Regions from separate parts of the Homo sapiens genome. Here regions 1, 2, 3, 4, 6 and 7 are each linked to region 5. Evidence: promoter capture Hi-C in 16 types of primary human blood cells and fetal thymus (Javierre and others, 2016). All regions are on one chromosome and are shown on one strand. Each heading gives the region's core, a stretch centred on a gene start or on the middle of the fragment in contact. The rest is flanking DNA. Distances are from core to core; before and after follow the strand shown. Region 1 overlaps SMYD3 (SET and MYND domain containing 3). Region 2 holds the start of TFB2M (transcription factor B2, mitochondrial). Region 3 overlaps SMYD3 (SET and MYND domain containing 3). Region 4 holds the start of SCCPDH (saccharopine dehydrogenase (putative)). Region 5 holds the start of KIF26B (kinesin family member 26B). Region 6 holds the start of SMYD3 (SET and MYND domain containing 3). Region 7 overlaps SCCPDH (saccharopine dehydrogenase (putative)).

Evidence for each region. Contacts are between HindIII fragments. The CHiCAGO score rates a contact against its expected background, and 5 or more counts as called.
Region 1: a fragment that was not itself captured here is called in contact with the fragment with the promoter of KIF26B in region 5 in 11 of 17 cell types (endothelial precursors, M2 macrophages, M0 macrophages and 8 more); the score reaches 12.2 in endothelial precursors.
Region 2: a contact is called between the fragment with the promoter of TFB2M here and the fragment with the promoter of KIF26B in region 5, in 3 of 17 cell types (fetal thymus, total B cells and naive CD8 T cells). The highest score is 16.1, in fetal thymus.
Region 3: a contact is called between a fragment that was not itself captured here and the fragment with the promoter of KIF26B in region 5, in 4 of 17 cell types (M2 macrophages, megakaryocytes, M1 macrophages and 1 more). The highest score is 9.3, in M2 macrophages.
Region 4: a contact is called between the fragment with the promoter of SCCPDH here and the fragment with the promoter of KIF26B in region 5, in 5 of 17 cell types (total B cells, fetal thymus, activated CD4 T cells and 2 more). The highest score is 18.0, in total B cells.
Region 6: a contact is called between the fragment with the promoter of SMYD3 here and the fragment with the promoter of KIF26B in region 5, in 16 of 17 cell types (total B cells, fetal thymus, M1 macrophages and 13 more). The highest score is 34.3, in total B cells.
Region 7: a contact is called between a fragment that was not itself captured here and the fragment with the promoter of KIF26B in region 5, in 1 of 17 cell types (total B cells). The highest score is 5.8, in total B cells.

Annotation. Positions count from the first base shown.
Region 1 is chr1:246,486,253-246,489,094 of GRCh38, forward strand. All of the region lies in intron 1 of SMYD3 (SET and MYND domain containing 3), which reads right to left. Among named protein-coding and RNA genes, the nearest start is that of SMYD3, 20 kb to the right of the region's middle. The HindIII fragment of the contact is 4,168 bases long and covers 1-2,842 here.
Region 2 is chr1:246,564,810-246,567,634 of GRCh38, forward strand. TFB2M (transcription factor B2, mitochondrial) reads right to left here and starts at 1,452. Exons shown (of 8, transcript NM_022366.3): 1 at 1,017-1,452. The coding sequence starts at 1,329. CNST (consortin, connexin sorting protein) reads left to right here and starts at 1,647. Exons shown (of 11, transcript NM_152609.3): 1 at 1,647-1,854. RefSeq lists enhancers at 1,142-1,421, 1,652-1,711, 1,752-2,251. The HindIII fragment of the contact is 6,532 bases long and covers 1-2,383 here.
Region 3 is chr1:246,434,268-246,437,183 of GRCh38, forward strand. All of the region lies in intron 1 of SMYD3 (SET and MYND domain containing 3), which reads right to left. Among named protein-coding and RNA genes, the nearest start is that of SMYD3, 72 kb to the right of the region's middle. The HindIII fragment of the contact is 571 bases long and covers 1,238-1,808 here.
Region 4 is chr1:246,723,103-246,726,199 of GRCh38, forward strand. It overlaps SCCPDH (saccharopine dehydrogenase (putative)), which reads left to right and starts at 1,307. Exons shown (of 12, transcript NM_016002.3): 1 at 1,307-1,510. The coding sequence starts at 1,321. RefSeq lists an enhancer at 741-900 and silencers at 1,111-1,240, 1,281-1,350, 1,451-1,660. The HindIII fragment of the contact is 2,865 bases long and covers 1-1,972 here.
Region 5 is chr1:245,153,421-245,156,651 of GRCh38, forward strand. KIF26B (kinesin family member 26B) reads left to right here and starts at 1,565. Exons shown (of 15, transcript NM_018012.4): 1 at 1,565-2,067; 2 at 2,862-3,231. The coding sequence starts at 2,005. RefSeq lists enhancers at 1-376, 377-1,052 and silencers at 907-1,106, 2,974-3,231. The HindIII fragment of the contact is 4,692 bases long and covers 1-3,231 here.
Region 6 is chr1:246,505,862-246,508,779 of GRCh38, forward strand. It overlaps SMYD3 (SET and MYND domain containing 3), which reads right to left and starts at 1,418. Exons shown (of 12, transcript NM_001167740.2): 1 at 1,193-1,418. The coding sequence starts at 1,356. RefSeq lists enhancers at 369-869, 870-1,370 and silencers at 1,056-1,105, 1,376-1,555, 2,045-2,277. The HindIII fragment of the contact is 10,729 bases long and covers 1-2,911 here.
Region 7 is chr1:246,766,679-246,769,561 of GRCh38, forward strand. SCCPDH (saccharopine dehydrogenase (putative)) reads left to right here. Exons shown (of 12, transcript NM_016002.3): 12 at 517-1,459. The coding sequence ends at 622. Among named protein-coding and RNA genes, the nearest start is that of LINC01341, 21 kb to the right of the region's middle. RefSeq lists an enhancer at 1,643-2,301 and a silencer at 1,789-2,083. The HindIII fragment of the contact is 7,322 bases long and covers 1-2,883 here.

The DNA.
Region 1 (2,842 bases), core at 59-2,558, 1.3 Mb after region 5:
TCAGAACCTGGACCAGAATCTATCTGACAACAAAGCTCCTTAACAGATATGACATAAGTATTAACAGGTTCAAATTCCTCTAGAATGGGTAATAATAGAAGATTCCATACCCAAGTATAGGTGATATTCATCTAATAACTACCTGAACTTCTGACCTTTTAGGCCAAAAGTGAAAAATTGAAACCCCACTCCAATTCTTGAATTGATATTTAATCTCTAAAATATTTATTTCAGGGATAAGTGTGAAGATTATAATACCTCACATTTATATAATGCTCTGGATTAAGTCATTTGCTCTTCACTAAAATCCTATGACACAGATAGGAATTATAACCCCATTTCATTCATTCTGTAGATGAAGAAAATGAAAATCAAAGAGATTAAGTGATTTGCCCAAGGTCACAAATCTAGCAAATGGAAGCAGCGCTCAAACCTAAGACTTACTTCTCCAAGTACAGTCCTATTTTTCAGTATACCATGTAGACAAACAGATGAATAATACTAATTAAAAAGTGATCTTCAAAAAAAGTAATCTCACCACCCCCAAAAAAACTAATTCACTCATCATACTCATTCTCATTGATGATCAAAGCAATGGTATAGTTCTCCAATATACAACATTTAAAGAAAGGAGATAAGACTTAGAGGAGCATAACACTGTTCAAAAAGGTAGGCCCATGGACATATAAGGAAAGCAAAAGATCCACTGGTCTCCAAGACAACAAAATAAATAAAATTACCCACCTATACTAATAGAAAATATGGTCTAGAACTATACTGAAGAATTTTGTTTAAATAAGAACAGTCAGAATGGGTAGACATTGACGGTACAAGACACAATACCTGCATCCAAGAGCTTCCAGAGGAGGTAAAAAAAGTATTTAATAATTACTGGTTCAAATAGTTGAAATATGGTTGGGCATGGTAGCTCACGCCTGTAATCCCAGCACTCTGGGAGGCCAAGCGAGTGGATCACTTGAAGCCAGGAGTTTGAAACCAGCCTGGCCAATATAGCCAAACCCCATCTCTACTTAAAATACAAAAATTAGCCAGGCATGGTGGTGCGCACCTGTAATCCCAGCTACTCGTCCCAGCTACTCAGGAGGCTAAGGCAAGAGAATCACTTGAACCCAGGAGGTGGAGGTTGCAGTGAGCCGAGATTGCACCACTGCACTCCAGCCTGGGCAACAGAGCAAGACTCTGTCTGGAAAAAAAAAAAGTTAAAATACAAGGTGGTAAATGTGATAAAAGATACAATGTTCTGAGTACCTGAAAGAGTGAGCACCACCCTAAACAACCAGGAGACAATCAAAGAATGTGTTCATCTATAGAAAGAAAATGTAAAAAAACAGAAGTCTCAAAATACAAGAAAAATAGTTACAAGCAATTTCACCCTACTGCAGAAAACCATGCCCAGTGTCTAACTTAGGCTCCACTCAGATCTTTTTTTTTTTTTTTTGAGATGGAGTTTCACTCTTGTTGCCCAGGCTGGAGTGCAATGACGCGACCTCAGCTCACCACAACCTCTGCCTCCTGGGTTCAAGTGATTCTCCTGCTTCAGCCTCCCCAGTAGCTGGGATTACAGGCATGCACCACCAAGCCCGGCTAATTTTGTATTTTTAGTAGAGACAGGGTTCCTCCATGTTTGTCAGGCTGGTCTCGAACTCCCAACCTCAGGTGATCTGCATGCCTCAGCCTCCCAAAGTGCTGGGATTACAGGTGTGAGCCACCACGCCTGGCCCTCCCTTTTAGCATTTCCTATGCATGGTGGCCACATGAATCATGTGACCTCGTAATAAACTGATCTTCCACAAGTGCCTCATTCATTAAATCCTGCTCATTAAAAGTTGGGCTCCAAACTACAATTAAATCCATGTATTTGATCTGTGACCGAAAAATTATTATATTAAAGGTAGTTATTACACAGGTAATTTCATTAAAAAGAAGTCTGGGCATTTTAAAATAGACTTCTAGAATCATCTGCCAGCTTGACTTGTACATCTTGACTGAAACTAACAGAAGAAAGGTATTACTATAGATCTCTGATACAGAAAGGTCAAGTTCAAGAAATTCAGTCAAAAAGCAAAAACAGAAGAAAGTGAAGGGTGCTCAGAAAAAGTCCAAGCTAAGCACAGAAAAAAATAACAGAGATTTAGGCTGGGCGTGGTGGCTCATGCCTGTAATCCCACTTTGGGAGGCCGAGGCGGGCAGATCACCTGAGGTCTGGAGTTCAAGACCAGCCCTGACAACCTGGTGAAACCCTGTCTCCACTAAAAATACAAAATTAGCCAGGTGTGGTGGTGCATGCCTATAGTCTCAGGTACTGGGGAATCTGAGGCAGGAGAATAGCTTGAACCCAGGAGGCAGAGGTTGCAGTGTGCCGAGATCGCACCACTGCACTCCAGCTTGGGTGACACAGTGAGACTCCGTCTCAAAAGAAAAAATAAAAATAGAGATTTTAAGCAGGCTGTTATTTACAACTGCTGCAAATATTCATATAAAACTACTATGGATTTAGCCCTAGTGTCCTCAAACTTTAGTGCCAATAAGACCAATAAAGTAGACAGAAGACAGATTGCAAAAGGAATGCGTCTCCATCCTGTAGGTAAACAGGTATCAAAATTTTATGAGTACCAGCGTCACCCAGGGAGCTTGGCAAGAATGTAGATTCTGTGCCTTAAAACACTAGATATTCTCCGGAGAGGCACTGAGAGCCAGATTTTTAACAAGTCCTCTCTCTCTCTCTCCACCTCCCACTCCCCAGTCATTCTGAGGGAGGTGAATGGTAGGTCACTTCTGAAGAAGCAATGCAGGCCGGGCGCGGTGGTTCACACCTGTAATC
Region 2 (2,825 bases), core at 202-2,701, 1.4 Mb after region 5:
GCTGGGATTACAGGCGCCCGCCACCACGCCCGGCTAATTTTTGTATTTTAAGCAGAGACGGAGTTTCACCATGTTGGCCAGGCTGGTCTGGAACTCCTGACCTCAAGGGAACCACTCGCCTCGGCCTCTGAAAGTGCTGGATTACAGGCGTGAGCCACCGCACCAGGTCAAAACTTGCACTCTTCATCACCATGATTCACTACCTCTTAGAAGAAAAAAGTCACAGCAAAATAGATTGCCTCTAGCCTATCACTTCCTCACGGACTACACGGATGCTTTAACCATCAAAGAGATTGTCAAGCCTAAACAGAACTGACTCCCTGTGATATGAAATGGTGCTTTAAAAAACTATCATTCAAAAAGCCTATAAATCTTGTGTTCTTAGCATCCTGCTATGGTCTATAGGGAATGCACGGAAGAATAAGATAACATCATTTTTTCAGCTGGCAGAGGCTTGCAACTCTTTTGGGGAGATAAGATCTAAGAGCATGTTTTATCAAAATATTGTGTAAAGTGCAAGCTGCTACAGAAATACTTTGTGGTGTCATTAACGATACAGACTCTACGCTTATGTAGTGGGCAATCTCTCCAACTAAGGAGCTTCAAACAAAGACCCGTATCTGGACGGGCGCAGTGGCTCACGCCTCTAATCCCAGCATTTTGGGAGACCTAGGGGGGAGGATCACGAGGTCAAGAGATCGAGACCATCCTGGCCAACACGGCGAAATCCCGTCTCTAGTAAAAATAAGAAAATTAGCTGGGCGTGGTGGCGCGCGCCTGTAGTTCTTGCTACTCGGGAGGCTGAGGCAGGAGAATCGCCTGAACCCGGTACGCGGAGGTTGCAGGGAGCCGAGATCGCCCCACTGCACTCCAGCCTGGCAACACAGCGAGACTCCGTCTCAAAGCAAAAGAACAACAAAAAAGACCCCCCAGTATCTAAAATAGCACCCCGAGGAGGGTCAATACGTTTGAATAAATGATGAACATCCAAGAAAATGCAATTCAGCTGGACTCACCTGGATTGCACTCCAGCAGTAGGTGTGGAGGTCTACTTGGTTTTCCCAAATAGATTTGCGCCAGGGTCTCAGCCAATCTCCGATCGGTTACGTAACGCTTAAAGTCTAAGCTGGCCTTAGACGCCTTCCTTGGCGGATTCCTGAAATCCGGTTCGGGCCACAGCTGCGGAGAGGAGTCAGAGAGCCCACAGTGGTTCCTCGCCGGCAAATGCTTTCGCGTCGCCGCTTCAGACCCTAAAATGCAAAAGCGACCAGCGCCCGCCAAGGCGGAGAGCCTCAGCCGCCGAGGAAGCCCGACCACTGGGATCCACATGTCCTTGTCTCTCAGGCCCGCTCCAAGAATCACCTAGTGCAGCTACTACAGTGAACCCCACGCAGGGTATCCCACGTGGAACATTTTCTGGCGTCCGGGCCAGGTCAAGCGGAAGTAAACACTAGAGCCTGCGCATGCGAACAGCGGAGCCTTCCTGCTTTTCTCCCTCACTTCCGCTTCCGCCTCGGCTCAGCCGCCCGAGGATTGTGAGTGGACCGTTGAGGAGAGCGACCGACCATCCGGCTGGTGTCCGGACTCGTACTCTATGGTTGTCCGCGCTCTGCGCTTCCTCTCTAGCCGCCAGTGCTCTATGCTCCGCGGTCGCGGGCCGCCAGCCTCCAGCCGGCCAGCCGCGAGGGGTGCGCAGAGGGAGGCGGGGCGGAAAGGCGAGAGGTGTCTCCTCCACCGGAGCCAGGGGAGACCCGAGCAAGCTCCGTGACAGCACGTCGGCCGCCATGTCGCCGAGTGGGGCTGGAAACAGACCCGGCGCCCAGCGGTAGCCCTCCTTGCGCCTCCGATTCCCAGGTGAGGAGAGGAGGAGCGGGATGCAGGGGACCCGCCGGCTCGCGGCCGGGATGGAAAGCCTTTCGGAAGCCTCTCGCTCCTCCCCCTGCGCTGTCCTCCTCCAGCCGCGCAGCCTCTGCCCTCCGGGTGAGGTGTAGCCCGGTCCCCTTACCTCCTCCGCCTCTCAGGTCGCCTGTTTTCCTCTCCTTTCTCAGCTACTGTGGGTCTCCTATTGCTGCGCGTCGCGCCAATTTCTCCCTCCCTAGGGGACTAGCGCCAGAAGTCGTTCCTCACCCGGCTCCTGGAGGAGCCTGCGGCTTCCACGGTCTCCGTTCCTTTCTGTTGTGTGGCCCACAGCCCGCTCTCCCCACCCTCGTGGATGGTTTTCATTTCCCCCCCACACCTGGTCCCCCCCATCACTACCACTTTGGTTGTCAAGAACCGCGTGGTGTCTCCCTTCCATTCCTCTCTCTGGGCCAATATTTTCCTTAATTTTTTCAGTTTGTGTGTTTAAAAGACTTAAAGTTAAGATTAAAAATGAAGATGTAAAAGCTTACAATTCCTTTCTAAGCTTAAAAAGATTAAGACTTTAGGATGCTTACTGTATTCCTTATGTAAACTTAGTCAAACACATCGTACTGTGGAATGCGATTTAAAAGACCCAATTTTGAAGACTAAAAATAGGATGCTGTAATGGAAATTTTGGCAGTCTTTTTTTTTTTACCTATTGGGCAATGTTAGAAGACACGGTTCTTTGAGAGTGTTTTCCGTGTTTCAGGATCAAACTTAGAGCTTTTACCCATTATCCTTACCACCAAGGCAAGAAACGGCAGCCAATCAACTCCGTGTCTTAGAATACGTACAATCCTTTCTGCTTACTCTACTGAGAGTGTAATTGAGTTTGGCATTTAAATGCACGAGGAAAAGGTTCCTAAGGAATGTATCACCCAGCAAATAGTCTGAAGATTATACTCATCTGATGAAGCTCAAGC
Region 3 (2,916 bases), core at 273-2,772, 1.3 Mb after region 5:
AAAACAAAAATTGACAAGTGGAACCTAATTAAAATAAAGAGCATCTGCACAGCAAAAGAAATTATCAACAGAGTAAACAGACAACATATAGAATGGGAGAAAATATTCACAAACTGTGAATTTGTCTATTTGTCATCCGACAAAGGTCTAATATCCAAAATCTATAATGAACTTAATTCAACAAGCAAAAAACAAATGACCCCAATACAAAATGGGCAAATATATGAATAGACACTTCTCAAATGAAGACACACAAGCGGCAGACAAACATGAAAAAATGTTCCACATCACTAATCATCAGAGAAATGCAAATCAAAACCACAATGAGATACCATCTCACACCTGTCAGAATGGCTTTTATTAAAAAGTCAAAACAGAACAGATGCTGGCGAGGCTGCAGAGAAAAGGGAACGTTTATCCACTGTTAGTGGGAATGTAACCTAGTTCGGCCACTGTGGAAAGCAGTTTGGAGATTTCTCAAAGAACTTGAAACAGAGCTACCATTTGACCCAGCAATGCCATTAGTAGGTATCTATCCAAAAGAAAAGAAATTGTTCTACCAAAGAGACACATGTACGTATATGTTTGTTGCAGCACTACTCACAATAGCAAAAAACACGGAACTAACCTAGGTGTACATCAATAGTGGTTTAGATAAAGAAAACATGGGGTGTGTGTGGAATAGTATTCTGCTCCCCATGGAATACTTAGCCATAAAAAAAGAACAAAATCATGTCCTTTGCGGCAACATGGAAACAGCTGGAGGCTATTCTCCTAAGCAAATTAATGCAAAACAATAAAACCAAATAACATGTAGTTCACACTTATAAGTGGGAGCTAATCACTGGTACTGCTGGACATAAAGACGGCAACAATAGACACTGGTGACTATTAAAGGAGAAGAGGAAAGGAGGAGGCAAGGATTGAAAAATTATTGGGTACTATGCTCACTACCTGGGTGACAGGATCATCCCTATTTCAAATCTCAGCATTACACAATATACCCATGCCACAAACTTGCACATGTATTCCTTGAATCTAAAATAAAAGTTGAAATTATTTTTTTTTAAAGAATGTGTTTGTGATTATCTGAAATTATTGCAAAATGTATATACATTTTTTTCCAAAGAGGTTTCACGGATTTCATAAGTTAACTGTTTTATTCTATGAAGAGACCATGGAATAAACAAAACAAAGCAGCAAAATGTTAAGTGAAAACTTTATATTCAGACTCTGAAGCTTCTTTGGTAAGGGTAGTGTGTTACGCAAAGAGGTATTCTGAGTAACTGTAATACTAGATAAGGAACAGTCAGGACAAAGCCACTGCTTTTCTCTAAGTTAGGAAAACATCAGGAACTCCTGAGAATTCCAAAATAGCTTGAATGAGGAAGGGGGAATAAGGGAAGAGTAATAGCGTTGAGACTCTAAATGATAGAAGAATTCCAAGGAGAAGATACAAGAATTCCAAGAATTCCAAGGAGAAGATACAAGAATTCCAAGAATTCCAAGGAGAAGATACAAGAATTCCAAGAATTCCAAGGAGAAGATACAAGGAAACTGGACAAAACACGCTAAATGAAGCTACATTAATTAGAATGTCCCACGTGGCATTTGAATTTCCCTCTATTAGAGTTTTTGCTACATTTCCCTGAAGGTTTATCGAGGGCAGACACTGACCTTAATAGTCTTTGTATCACGGGTTCCAGCACAGTACTTCTCACATAGTTGTTACTCAACATTTCCTGGGTCAGTAATGAAAACATGGGTTGGAAATAGGTGGCAAGTTTTTTTAAAATTATTAAACCAGAAGCTTTCAGTGGGTAGTAGTTACATATTCAAATTTCCTTCACCCACTTGAGAGAGAAAATATAAAGGCTATGAAATGTGTCGGGAGAAAAACTATGAACCATTCTTTCTTATTTGAAAAAAAAAAAAACTATACAACAATAGAAGAAAGTTGAAAAAGAACCTAATCTTCCTTCATGGAAACATGGACTTAAACAAAAAAAGAACCTAATTTTCCTAAAGTGAACTAAAAGTTACAAATTTCAATCTCCAATAATTGAAGGCAAGAACTTTGTTCTTATAGACTATCTCAGGCAGCAGTTTAAAAGGGGGGCCTACAATGTTTTCCCCTTTGATTTTAAAATAATTTTACACTTACATAAAAGTCACAATAATAGCACAGAGGATTCCCATCTACCCCTTCACTCAGCTTCCCTTAACATTGACATCACCACAGTAATACATAGAAAGTATCTAGGTTCCTGCCTCCCTAGTCTCCTCCGATCTGTCATAATTCCTAAGTCTTTCCTTGTCTTTGACACTTGATACTTTTGAAGAGTAATGATCAGTTATTTAGGCAGGTGTCTTGCCTAAATCATGTTCTTTTTCTGTTCCACAAGGTAAAGATGTATTTAGATGTCCTGCTTCGTTAGTCTCCTCCAATCTGTGACCCAACATGCTCCCGCCCCCAAGGGCAGGTTTACTTCTATTACTTCTATTTTCCCCAGGTGTAAAGGGTTTTCACCAGAGCCCCAAAGGTAATGGTCATTGTTTTGTCCTTTCTCTGCTTTCATTCAGTAGAAGGGAAAAGGACGATAGGGAATAAGGGTCCTGCCAGAGTTTCTTTCTTTTTTTTTTTTTTTTTTGAGACAGAGTTTTCACTCTCGCCCAGACTGAAGTGCAGTGACACAATCTCGGCTCACTGCAACCTCCACCTCCCGGGTTCAAGCGATTCTCCTGCCTCAGCTTCCCAAGTAGCTGGGATTACAGGCACCCGCCACCACACCCAGCTAATTTTTTGTATTTATTAGAGACAAGGTTTCACCACGTTGGTCAGGCTGGTCTCGAACTCCTGACCTCGGGTGATCCACTCACCTCAGCCTCCCACAGTGCTGGGATTTCAGAGTTTCT
Region 4 (3,097 bases), core at 57-2,556, 1.6 Mb after region 5:
ATTTTATTGTAGCATTCTTTGTATTATATTGCACAAAAGCACTATACAACATTGTACAAAAGCATTGTAGAATTTGGTGTATTTCTCTCTCTCTCCCTCTCTCCACACACGTATCACAGACATTTTTTTTTATTCTGAATCATTTGGGAATAAGTTCACGACATCATGACCAAATAAGAAAGCTGCAGGATTGACATTTACAAAATATTCAAAATATGCAAAACGGTACTATAATATTTATAAATACATACATATATAACAAGCAGAAAGATAGGAATAGGAATAATAAACACTAAATTCAGGCAAGTGGCCGTCTTGGGGACGCAAAAGGAAATGTGTTCAGGAATGAATACCTGGAAGCCTCGCTATCTGGAATATTTTTCTTAAGCTGTGTTGAGGGTACATATTTGTTATTGGCTGTACCTTTTTTGCAAGACATATATTTCAAAATTTTTAAAAGCATTCATTTATTCCTATTTTAATGAGAGTTTTTAAAAATCAGGAATGGGCTGGGTGCAGTGGCTCATGCGTGTAATCCCGACCCTTTGGGAGGCCGAGGTGGGTGGATCACCTGAGGTCAGGAGTTCGAGACCAGCCTGGCCAACAAGGTGAAAACCCATCTCTACTAAAAACACAAAAATTAGCAGGGCGTGGGGGCGCTCCCCTGTAATCCCAGCTACTCGGGAGGCTGAGGCAGAATCGCTTGAACCCAGGAGGCGAAGGTTGCAGTAAATCGAGATCGCGCCACTGCGCTGCAGCCTGGGCGACAGAGTGAGACTCCATCTCAAAAACAGAAAAGAGAAAAGAAAGGGAAAAAAGGGAAGAAAGAAAGGAAGAAAGCAAGCAAGCTCAAGGGTTCTCGGGGTGGGCCATCCCCGAGGCCATCCGCAGATTTTCTCGCACTCTTTGCTCCACCCCCACGTGCAACAAGGACAACCGGCTGCCGCCTCCAGCTTCCAGCAGGGCTAGAAGATGCGCTGCCCGGGGCGGCCAGAGCCCTGCAGAACAAACCGCCGCACGGAATTAGGGGCCGCCGTCCGCGCCTGCCAGGCTTGGAAGCGGACTCGCCCCCAGGGCCACCGCCCTAGGAAACCTCCCGTCGGAAGCCTCCCAAGCAAGCCGCTCACCCGCGGCTCCCGCGCGAGGCGGCGTGGGCGTGGGCGCGGCCCTGGCGCGGCGGCGCGCGCGGGGTGAAGGGAGCCCGGCGCGCTGGCTGCGGCGACGGCGGCCGTTGCTGCGCCGGGTACTGGGGTCGCTGCCTGAGGCGCAGGCGCCGTGGACTCCACCCGCCCCGGGGCCTGGGCTCGCTGTGGACTCGTCATGGCGACCGAGCAGAGGCCTTTCCACCTGGTGGTGTTCGGCGCGTCTGGCTTCACCGGCCAGTTCGTGACCGAGGAGGTGGCCCGGGAGCAGGTGGACCCGGAGCGGAGCTCCCGCCTGCCCTGGGCCGTGGCGGGCCGCTCCCGGGAGAAGCTGCAGCGGGTGCTGGAGAAGGCGGCCCTGAAGCTGGGTACAGCGGCGGGGCGGGACGGGGCTGCGCGGGCGGCTGGGCCGGGGACCCCGCATCGCCCCAAACGAGCGTTTCTCCCGCAGGGATGCGCCCTACGTGTCCCCGAGCCCTGCGTGAGGACAAGAAGAGGAGAGGGAGAGATGTTTCAAATACTGCCATAGCTTTGTCCCACCTCCTTAACTATATGTGTGTGTGCGCGTGCGTGTATAATATACACACACATTTTTTTTTCTTTCCTTCTCCTCTTTCCCGCTTTTTGCATTTCTGCCTCAGTTTGGGGAGCTCCCCTGGCGAAATGGTCAAGAACTTGAGTTGTCCCTCTCTCTGCTTCATCCTGCCCCGCAGCGGGGGCACCTGTTGAATCTGCGGGTTTCTAGATGTTTGGTCGGAGAGGAGAGGAGGGCTTTGGTCTCTTGGAGATCGGAGTCTCCCTTTGCCTCGTGTTTTGAGGACGGGAGAGCAAGCTTACGAGTTGTACTGACAGTGTCTTTGTGGCTATTCTGTTTTAGTTTCTTGTTTTGTGTGTAAGAATACTCCAGCAGTCTTCCTCTTCAGAGAATAAAAAGTGTGTATTTCTGGTTTAGACGCTTACGTATTCTCTAAGCATTCAGGTAGCATGTATTTATTGATAATCTAAGCATTCAGGTAGCATATATTTATTGATAATCTAAGCATTCAGGTAGCATATATTTATTGATTCTCTAAGCATTGAAGGAGCATATATTTATTGAGTGACGTTGTCCATGCTAAGACCTGTCCCGAGTCTGGGGTGCAGGATGGGACAGAGAGGAGACAGACACACGGATCCTGCTGCCTTCATGGCTGGGGAGACATCTGACTTACGACTCCGTAGCCTTTAAATTTGGCTATTAACTCCCGTAGATTTCCCTTATACAGACACCCATTAGAGTTCTGGAAATACTACATTCTTTCTGTTTAATCTACTTTCATACAATGCCCTGCTCGGAGTGCTTTTGTTCGTGGTTATGTACAGAAGACACCACGTAGGCTGGACTCTCCTACAGCTTTTGGTGCTGACACTACCAACACGTAATTCTGACCAAAGAGCTTTTTGGTCGTTATTTTTCCAACAGAAGTAATTTTACTATGAAAATATATGCTTCCATTTCTTTTTTCGGCTCAGCAAGATCGTACCGGTACAGCCTAGTCACTTATCATATATAATGCCCAAATCAAGTTTCATTGTGGGGGGATATACCTTCACCTATTGAAACCTGCATCACTTAGTTGAGCCAGTTAATTCCAATTATTTTCTTATGAGCCTGTGTGTGTTTATATAGCGTGTGCTTTTCACCTCAGAGTTCTAATTTTTTGTTTTTTGTTTGTTTGTTTGCCATTCTCCTGCCTCAGCCTCCTGAGTAGCTGGGACTAGAGGCGCCCGCCACCACGCCCTGCTAATTTTTTTAGTAGAGACGGGGTTTCACCGTGTTAGTGAGGATGGTCTCGATCTGCTGACCTCGTGATCCACCCTTCTCGGCTTTCCAAAGTGCTGGGATTACAGGCGTGAGCCACTGCACCCAGCCCTGATGGTTTTGATGTTAACAGTCAGTCCGAAACTCTCCATCA
Region 5 (3,231 bases), core at 315-2,814:
AGCTGGCGCGTGCTGCCTGGAGGTGTACCTGCCCCCTAAGGTCCCCTATTGATAGGATCGCTTTTAAATTGGAAGTGGGAACGTAACGGAAACGTCCACTCTGTTCTTGCCATCTTCCTTTTGACCTTTTTACCTCGCTTTGGTGGCTGTGAAATATTCCCGCGCAGGAGCTGGAGCGGGGAGGAGTGGGGCAGAGCACGGGAGGCACAGAAGAAATTGTCCCCGAGGAAGGCAGAGTGGGGGCGTGGCCCCAGGCTTCCAGAACCCCGAACCTTTGTCTTCTTGCCCCCTCCTGCGTCGTCCACAGCTCAGAAGGAAGTCAGCGACCAGAAAGCCCTGAACGTCCTTCGCGCCCTCGCCCACCCCCGGGCTGGGTCTCCCCGCGGGCGCGGAGATGCCGTTACACCCCACGTGATCCCTGCGCCCGGCCAGTCCTTCCAGAGGCGTCTCGCGGGGTGTTAATTAAAGGTCACAACAAAACAGACCTGCTGGCTCACCAGAAGAAATGTCCTCCCGTGAAATGAAAAATGACACCCCAGAGCAGCCACGTGTGGAGCCTGGCATACGCCGGCTTCCTGCGCTCCTGGGCGCTGCGCCGGGGGACTGGGGCGGGGGGCGATCGGAGAGGGAGCGATGACGGGGTGCTCCGGAGACCCCGCGGGGCCCAGGCGCAGGAAGAAACGGGCGGCGGGGGGCGAGGGGCCCGATCCCACGCAAGGAGAGGCCAAGGCCAGCTCGCGCCACACCCCCTCTCCAGGCCAGAGTCGTCCGCGTGCAGCGCGGCGAAGCCCTCAGTTTCCCCTGCCCGGCAGCGGCCCGCTGGGTCACCAGGCTCACCTGTCCCAGCCCCGGGCGGCTTAGTCCATCACAGACCGGGGCTCGGGCGGGCGGGGGACCAAGGGCCCTAGTCCTGCGGCTGCGGTCGGGGAGGGTGGCCCCCCGGCCGGCCCGGGGTCGGTAGGGCAATTCCAGAAAAGGTTTGCCCGGCAGCTCTCCGAGAACAAAGGGCGGGGGGAGGACCCGGCATGTTTGTGGACTTGTTTGTGACTCAATCCCTTTTGCACGGCGTTTCACAGACAGACCTGCAAGCCTTGTCAGGAAGAGAAAGAACTTGGGGGCGGGGGAGGCTGGGGCACCGCATTTCCGTCCAGCCACGCTCGCTCGCGCGGCCCCCGGGCTCCAGGCTCGCGCAGCGGCGTTTCATTAGAGCCCCGGGCCCGGGCCGCGCGCCAGGAACTTCCCCGCACGCGGCGAGATCGACGATCCCCCGCCCCCAGCCCCAGCCCGGCTCCAGGCCTCGCAATGTCAGGCACGAGCGCCGCCACATAAAATGGATCCCGGCCGGCGCGGCGAGGGCGGCAGGTTCCCGAGGCTCCTCCGCGCTGCGCCCGGGCGCACACGCGCGCTGTGACCGCCGACCGCTCCCGGGCCACGCGGAGCCGCCCCTCTCCCGGCCCTCGCGCAACTGTCAGGCGAAACGGGCCGGCGGATATTGGCTCGGCGACACGCCGAGGCTCCTCCCCGAGTCTGGATCTTTATATTTTGGGAGAATTTCTTTGAACTCAGTTACCAAGCTCGGTGAAGGAGACAAGTTCCCACAGCTGACTCGGCTCGGCTCTCCCACCTTCCCGGCAGCGGCCGCGAGCCCTGATTGTATCCCTCGCTTTCCTCGTGGGGGAGCACGGACTGACTTGGCTGAAGAAAATGCCAGTTCTGTGGATGTGGCCGTGACAAGAGGACGTGCGGCTGGAAGAGGCAGAAGGGGACGAGGAAAAGCATGCTTTGAAGAGAAGAATAAACCAGCGACCCCAACCCTTTCTGCAAATTGGTGCTATTACTTGTGGGATCCATTTGCTTTCATTCCCTCCCACCCCACCGCTGAAGAAACCTTGCCCTGAGGGCTGAGAGCCAGCCCCCTGCAGCCGGGGGACGCTTCTGGGTTGGAGGACCTTCTGGATGTAGCGTCGGTGGAACCTTTAGATACTCTCCTCTGGAAAAGCCACCATGAATTCGGTAGCTGGGAATAAAGAGAGGCTTGCGGTCTCCACCAGGGGCAAGAAATACGGGGTAAGTTGTGACGGTACGACGCGGAGACGCGTTACCAGACCCATCTCGGCGGAGGTCCCCCTTTCCCCGGGATCGTGCGGCCCCGGCCCCGAGCTCTCCCCCGCTGCAGAGGCGCCCCCGGGGCTGGCGGGGTTGTGAGTGCGCGGAGGCGGGTCGGCCGCGGGGACGCCCGCACGCTCGCCTCGCTCTCGGAATTTTTTCAGCCCTCTCGTTCCTTCCTTTCCACGCACCCGTAACTTTTGCCGCATTCCTGCACTTCTAGGCAGAGTGAAGCCGAAGGGGAGGGTTTCCCATGAATGCTGGGCAGTACCTCGGATCGTTTAGCTGGAGCCGTGAGAGCCTCTCGTTTACCTGCAGGATCCGGAGAGTTGGACCCCGTATGAATAAAAATCCTGAAATCACAGCCCTCCCCCTACCCCCCCCATAGGGTCTTCCAGGATTTTGTTCCCGGGATCTTGCTGGGATAGGTGCCGGCTTCAAAAGCGTGGGGCGCTGAACCTATGGATCCCCCCCGCCTTGCAGAAGCCGTGGAAACGGCCCCGAGCGAGTCCCCTTCCTGACCCCAGGAGGAGGCCACCGGGGACCAGCGCAGGGGTCACCTGGGCGGTGGGGACTCACTTAAGGACAATTAACGAGACAGACGGAGGGCAATTTGGCCGCAGGGCTTGGAGAGGTCCCCAACCGACTCCCGTGGGCGGTTCGAGCGGGTACTTGGTGGCGCACGTATGACCCAGCTCCTGGGCGCTGCAGCCCGCCGCCTTGCAGCCCCTGACACCGGCGTGTCTTCCCCGCAGGTGAATGAAGTCTGCTCGCCCACCAAGCCCGCAGCGCCCTTCTCCCCGGAAAGCTGGTACCGGAAAGCATACGAGGAGTCGCGCGCCGGCAGCCGGCCCACTCCTGAGGGCGCGGGCTCAGCGCTCGGCTCCTCGGGGACCCCGTCTCCCGGCTCGGGCACCTCGTCCCCGAGCTCGTTCACCGGCTCCCCGGGACCCGCCTCCCCCGGCATCGGCACTAGTTCGCCGGGCTCCTTGGGCGGCTCTCCGGGCTTCGGCACAGGCTCCCCGGGCTCCGGCAGCGGCGGCGGCTCCTCCCCCGGCTCGGACCGCGGCGTCTGGTGCGAGAACTGCAACGCCCGCCTGGTGGAGCTCAAGAGGCAGGCCCTGA
Region 6 (2,918 bases), core at 168-2,667, 1.4 Mb after region 5:
AAGAACTATCTTGAAAGGAACGAATTGTTTTCAACCACACAGTTTACAAAAACTTCAAGATGCTGCTCTCTCCCGAACAGATGTTTTCGCTGTTATCATTACTTCAGAAAGCAACAGACAAAATTATTATTTGGTAGCTCTAAAATGCAAAGTCATATTCCTGAATTATGAATCAAATGAGAACAAAGTAAGAACAATGGTCAAATTACAGATACGAGTTTTGCACTTACCGTCCCACCTCCACCCACCTAAATCTCAGACTGGCAGGTCTGAAAAGCGGCCATGCACAAAATCATCGCACTCATCTCAAAATAGAACTCTTCTTCCTCGCACACAGAAGCTCAATAATATTTGTTGACTGAATGCAGTTCCTATTATTCATGTATGTTACACATTTCCATAAATTGCTTTCACATAGCACTTTACACCGGCACAGCGCGTCCAGGCTTCCAAAACACCTTCACGTGAATCCCTGCATCTAGAATGGTGGTTAAGAGTTAGACATGCCTGCACAGCCATTAAATGGCACAGCACACGGGGGACCCGTGTCTGATGCTCCCACAGCACATTAATTGCCCCTCTATTTCAGCCCTTCTGGTACACTGTAATTCTCTCTCTCACTTGATCAGCTCTTTGAGGAGGTCCCGTTCCTCTTCGTATCCCCAGGCCACACACAACCCAGACCACAGAGGTGCACCGTAGACATCAAGATTCTTCCACCTGCTGCAAGCCTGATGCTTTACCGGCGGGGCCTCTGCAGGGGAGCCTGATTTATACTCATCCCAGCTCCCACCCAGCCCCACGCCCGCCACGTGTGATTTCCACAGCCGCACCAAGGAAGACTGTCCAGCACACAGACTTTTCGTCTCCCAGCAAAATTATCCCCGGCACAACGCTTCCCCCTCAAGTCTGCCCAATGGCTTTCCCATTTCCACCGCAGCCCAGGTTGGGGGGCAGTGGCTGAGCCTGGGCCCCCTCCCAGCCCCGCTGCGGCAACCTAGGGGGGTGTCCGGGCGGGGCCTGTCAGCAGCGACCCGCCCCCGGGCACACGCGCGTCAGGGGCAGCACCGCCAAGCTGCCTGTGCAGCCCCATCCAGCAGGAGTCCCGCGGCTGCCGGCCGCCCGACGCCCCCCCCTCCCCAGCACCCCACACAGCTCGCGACTCAGGTAGGCGAGGGCGCTCCTTACGCACCCGAGAAGGCAGCGGTCGCAGACGACGCCACGACTCCCCTTGCACACCGTGTACGCCAAGGGATCCGAGCGGAAGAGTAGCTCTCCGGGGCGCAGCGGGGTCACGGCGCGCAGCCCGTTTCCCCTCTTGGCGGTTGCGAACTTTTCCACCTTCAGCGGCTCCATCCTCCCGCAGCTCCGGCACCTCAGACGGCTACCCGCGTCCAGCAGCGGGCGTCTCACGGGCTGCCGGGACCCGCGCGCCTGCGCCCTGCGCGCACACGTACGCCCGAGGGGCGGGGCGGGCGCGGTGGGGCAAGAGCATGCGCAGATGGAGTCTGGAGGGACGGCTGGAGTGGAGTGTGTGGGACCTGAAGGTGGTCGTAAGGCTCCGCGTGCGGCTCGTGCCCATGGCGACTGCGCAGAAGACAGGCGGGGTTTTTTTTCTCCCTCTAACATTGTATTACGATCATTTTAACGCATACGGAACAGTTGAAAACAGTGCAGTGAACACCTATATACCTCCGCCTAAATCAGACAACCTAGCACTTTGCCATTTCTGCTCGTCACTCTCTCCCCACCTGTAGCTATGTATACACGTATTGTCGTTAAACTATTTCAAAGTTGCAGGCATCATGACATCACAACTAGTACTTTGCACTGTAACTTTTTTTTGTTTTAGGACGGAGTCTTGCTCTGTCGCCCAGGCTGGAGTGCAGTGGCGAGATCTCGGCTCACTGCAACCTCTGACCTCCGGGTTCAAGCGATTCTCCTGCCTCAGCCTCCATAGTAGCTGGGACTACAGGCATGTGCAATCCTCCCGCCTGGGCCTCCTGACTAGATGGGACTATAGGCTCACGCCACCATGCCTGGCTAATGCTTTTTACTTTCCTCCAGAGACAGTCTACCTATGTCGCCCAGGCTAGTCGCAAACTCCTGGCCTCAAGTGAACCTGAACCTCCTGCCTCGACCTCTCGAATTGCTGGAATTACAGGTGTGAGCCACCACACCCAGCTTAATTTTCTTTTTTGTTTTTGGGGTTTGTTTTGTTTTGTTTTGTTTTTTGAGACGGAGTCTCATTCTCGCCCAGGCTGGAATGCAGTGGTACGATATTGGCTCACTGCAACCTCTGCCTCCCGGGTTCAAGCGATTCTCCTGCCTCAGCCTCTTGAGTAGCTGGGACTACAGGCGCCTGCCACCACGCCCGGCTAATTTTTGTATTTTTAGTAGAGACGAGGTTTCACCGTGTTAGCCAGGATGGTCTCGATCTAACCTTGTGATCCGCCCGCCTCGGCCTCTCAAAGTGCTGGGATTACAGGCGTGAGCCACCGCGCCCAGCCCACCCGGCCTAAATTTCTTAGTTTGGACAAACGTGCCATGGTAATGCAAAATGTCATTATTAAGGGCAGCTGGATGGAAGGTGTAGGAGTACACTATAGTGCCTTTCAATTTTTCTGTGTATCTAAAGTCATTTCAAAAGTAAACATTTATTTTAAAACATGAAGGTGGTTATGCTTCCATGAGTGTAAAGTACAAAAGGCAGGCTCGTGGTGCTGTCAGAAGTCAGAACACTGGTTTCAGGGCTGGGGGTGTTGGGAGGGGCTGGGCATGGTTGGCTTTGTGATCTGGGGGCTGGTGTGTTCCATCTGTGAATATCTTTTAAGCTGTGCACTTACCAGGGATGTAAGTCATATCTTAATAAATTTTCATAAGTTTGACAAAAAATAAAATGAGGATGGGAAGCTTGT
Region 7 (2,883 bases), core at 177-2,676, 1.6 Mb after region 5:
AGTAAAATTTGTATATAGTAAAATCTAATTAAATTTTTTCAAATACCTAGGTCCCCCTTGAAAATATTTAGCATTTATGAATGTTAGCTATTATATTTTTAAAAACTTCTTTTTCATCCAATTTAAGTTCTGTTTACACTTTCATAATAATTGATTATCTAAATTTATTCCATTCGGGTCTTTCTTTAATCCCCCTAAGTCTGAGGACTGTCCTTGTAAACAGCAGCGGTTCTTCGGGGTGATGGCGCACAGTGCACCCACCAAACACATGCATAGAATGGAAACAGTATCTCCAGGAACAGAGCCAGTCTAGATAGGGTTGGCTGTGGTGCAAGTTTCTCCTGACTAATAGCTACTTGCTCATTTGGCTGATTTTAGGAAGGAATCAAAGGTAGCCGTGATTACCATGAAGACTTGGGTTTTCAGGGGTTCTGTAGCAATTTGATAGTGAGGCCTGTGAAATAGGAGACTGGAGAGGAGCTGAGTGCACTGTTTTCTCTTGTTATTGTTTTATAGGGGCGGGGTCTTCACACCTGGAGCAGCTTTTTCCAAAACAAAGTTGATTGACAGACTCAACAAACACGGTATTGAGTTTAGTGTTATTAGCAGCTCTGAAGTCTAAACACTGGAAGAATTAACTGAAGTCATAACGTGCGTGAATTAACAGCTTCTCTATTTGATATTTGAAATTCTTCTGTAAGCCTGTCTGAGTGTATGTGGAAACGATTGTCAAATCTAAAATATCTATATATTAAAAAGTAGGAAATTGTCCTAGCTTACCCTAAATTTCAAATCTGAGTTGATTTTGTGATTTTATTGCTTATAACAGAGAACTCATATTTGACATATTTTTTTCATTGATGTGTTCCTGGTAGATTTTCACGAATGAGCTGGCAGGTCTAATGGGGGAGGCGGCGTCCCAGTCTGTGTTGCAGCAGCATTCTCATCGGGGGTGCGCACACCATCGTTACTGTCGGGCAGTAACTGCCGCTTGCCTTGCCGCAGTAGGAGGGAAATCTCACCTTCCTTCCACATACTGTCTTGAGCCTTTGCTAAATTAAACTGCACTTTTTGCTATTTTTGCCTAGTTTTTCGCCAATCTACACTGATTTTGGACTGTTACCTAAGTTGAAAAATAAAAGGTTGTCAATCGAATGGTGGTTTAATGTTTGGACCTGCCGATGTATTTGTATAGTGGTAGAAACATGCTGCTTAAGTGGCCTAACCTGTTTCTTGCCAATAAGTAGGCTTATCATTTTATCTTTACGTAATTCTATATCTGTGACTAGGTTTTTAAGGATACAGCTTATAAGTTGCTATCAATTTTCACTACCTAAGCAGAATTTTTCTCTAATTTACTTTTTGTATTTTAACTAGGTTTTACATGGAAGCCCTAAAATAAGGCAAAAGACTTTTTCTTTTGTAATAAGCATATAATAAACACGTATATACATAGCAATCATGTTGTTCATTACCTAAACAAGACAGCCACTCCTTTATGGAATTTCTACCAAAAAGTGAGGAACATAAAATATTTAGGAATATTATTTGTGTTGGGAGACCCTTCTGCTCTGCCTGTAAGAAGAAGAGGGGGCGGTATCTAACTCAAAGAGGCCTGTAAGGAGAAGTGGGGGAGGGTATCTAACTCAAAGAGGCCTGTAAGAAGAAGCGGGGGGTATCTAACTCGAAGAGGGTGTTCTTGGTGGTAGTATTCCCCACCCTAACTCTGCTTCCTCTGTCCTGGCCTGGTCATCACAAGATACAGATCCTCAGCTGTGCCCTAACTTGTGGGACCTTAGAAAAGGTTTTATCGGCTGTGAAATTAGAAAGCAGTACAGGAGCAATAGAGCCCACGACTAGCTGCACATCTGAATCACGAAACAGTAACAGGTTCCTCCGTGCCTGCAGCAACTTGCGTTCAGGAGGGCGGGAGGTCGAAGCCTCTGTGTTTTTGATATGCATTTGGGAACCGCTGGGTGAAGCTGCATATCCTGTCCCTGTTTCTAGCTTTGCAATGTATGCTCGAGCATTGACTCTGATTCTGAAGGTAGCAGTGTGACCCCATCCTCTGGCTTGAGGTACATGTGTGTCTCATCCTGATTTTCCTTTTAATCCCCCAAGGTTCTGCCTGCTCCCATTTGCTGAAAGTATATGACTCACCTCAGGTGAGTAAACTGCTAATTGTCCAAAATGTTGAGGCTCAGTTCAAGAGACAGAAGCCATTCCTGCTCCCAGTGGCCAGGCCCAGAGGACTGGAGTCTGCCTAGCCTCTACTGTTACGGGGTCTCACTGACAGAGTCTTCCCAGGATTCCGTGATGCCTTTGCTGGCCCTGTCCTGGCTGTCACCACGAGGTGCTCCACGCTTGGGTTCCAGGGTTACAGCAGTTTTTTTAGTTCACTTGTGTATGTGGTCAGGACCTGAGCTGCAAGCAAAACCCATGCCTCCCTTACGAATCCTTGGACCCTGCTCTTAAGCTGAAATCACTAGCCCAGATTCCTTTGTCTTTCTAGAGGTTCCTTTTTGGAGCCCTTGACAGCCTCTCCTGCCAGTGCAGCTTCGGCGTCATCCTATTTGACCTTCCTTAACTTCATATTTTAGGGAGCAAGGATTGAGGTTGTCGCCCCTTATTTTCTCCTTCCTGATTTTTTCTGCATGTCAGCCAGGACTCCCAGGGACAGTCCTGCACCGTCAGGCAGCAGGCCATCACAGTTAGGAATGCAGGCTCTGGCATCAGCCTCTGTGCTTACAGTGGCCTGGGCATGTTACTCAACTTCATCGAATTATTGTGAGAATTAAATGAGCTAACATGTTTAGCACTTGGATTAGTGCCTGGCACATGGTGTAAGCACTTACTAAGTTTCAACGTCATCACTACTGTTGT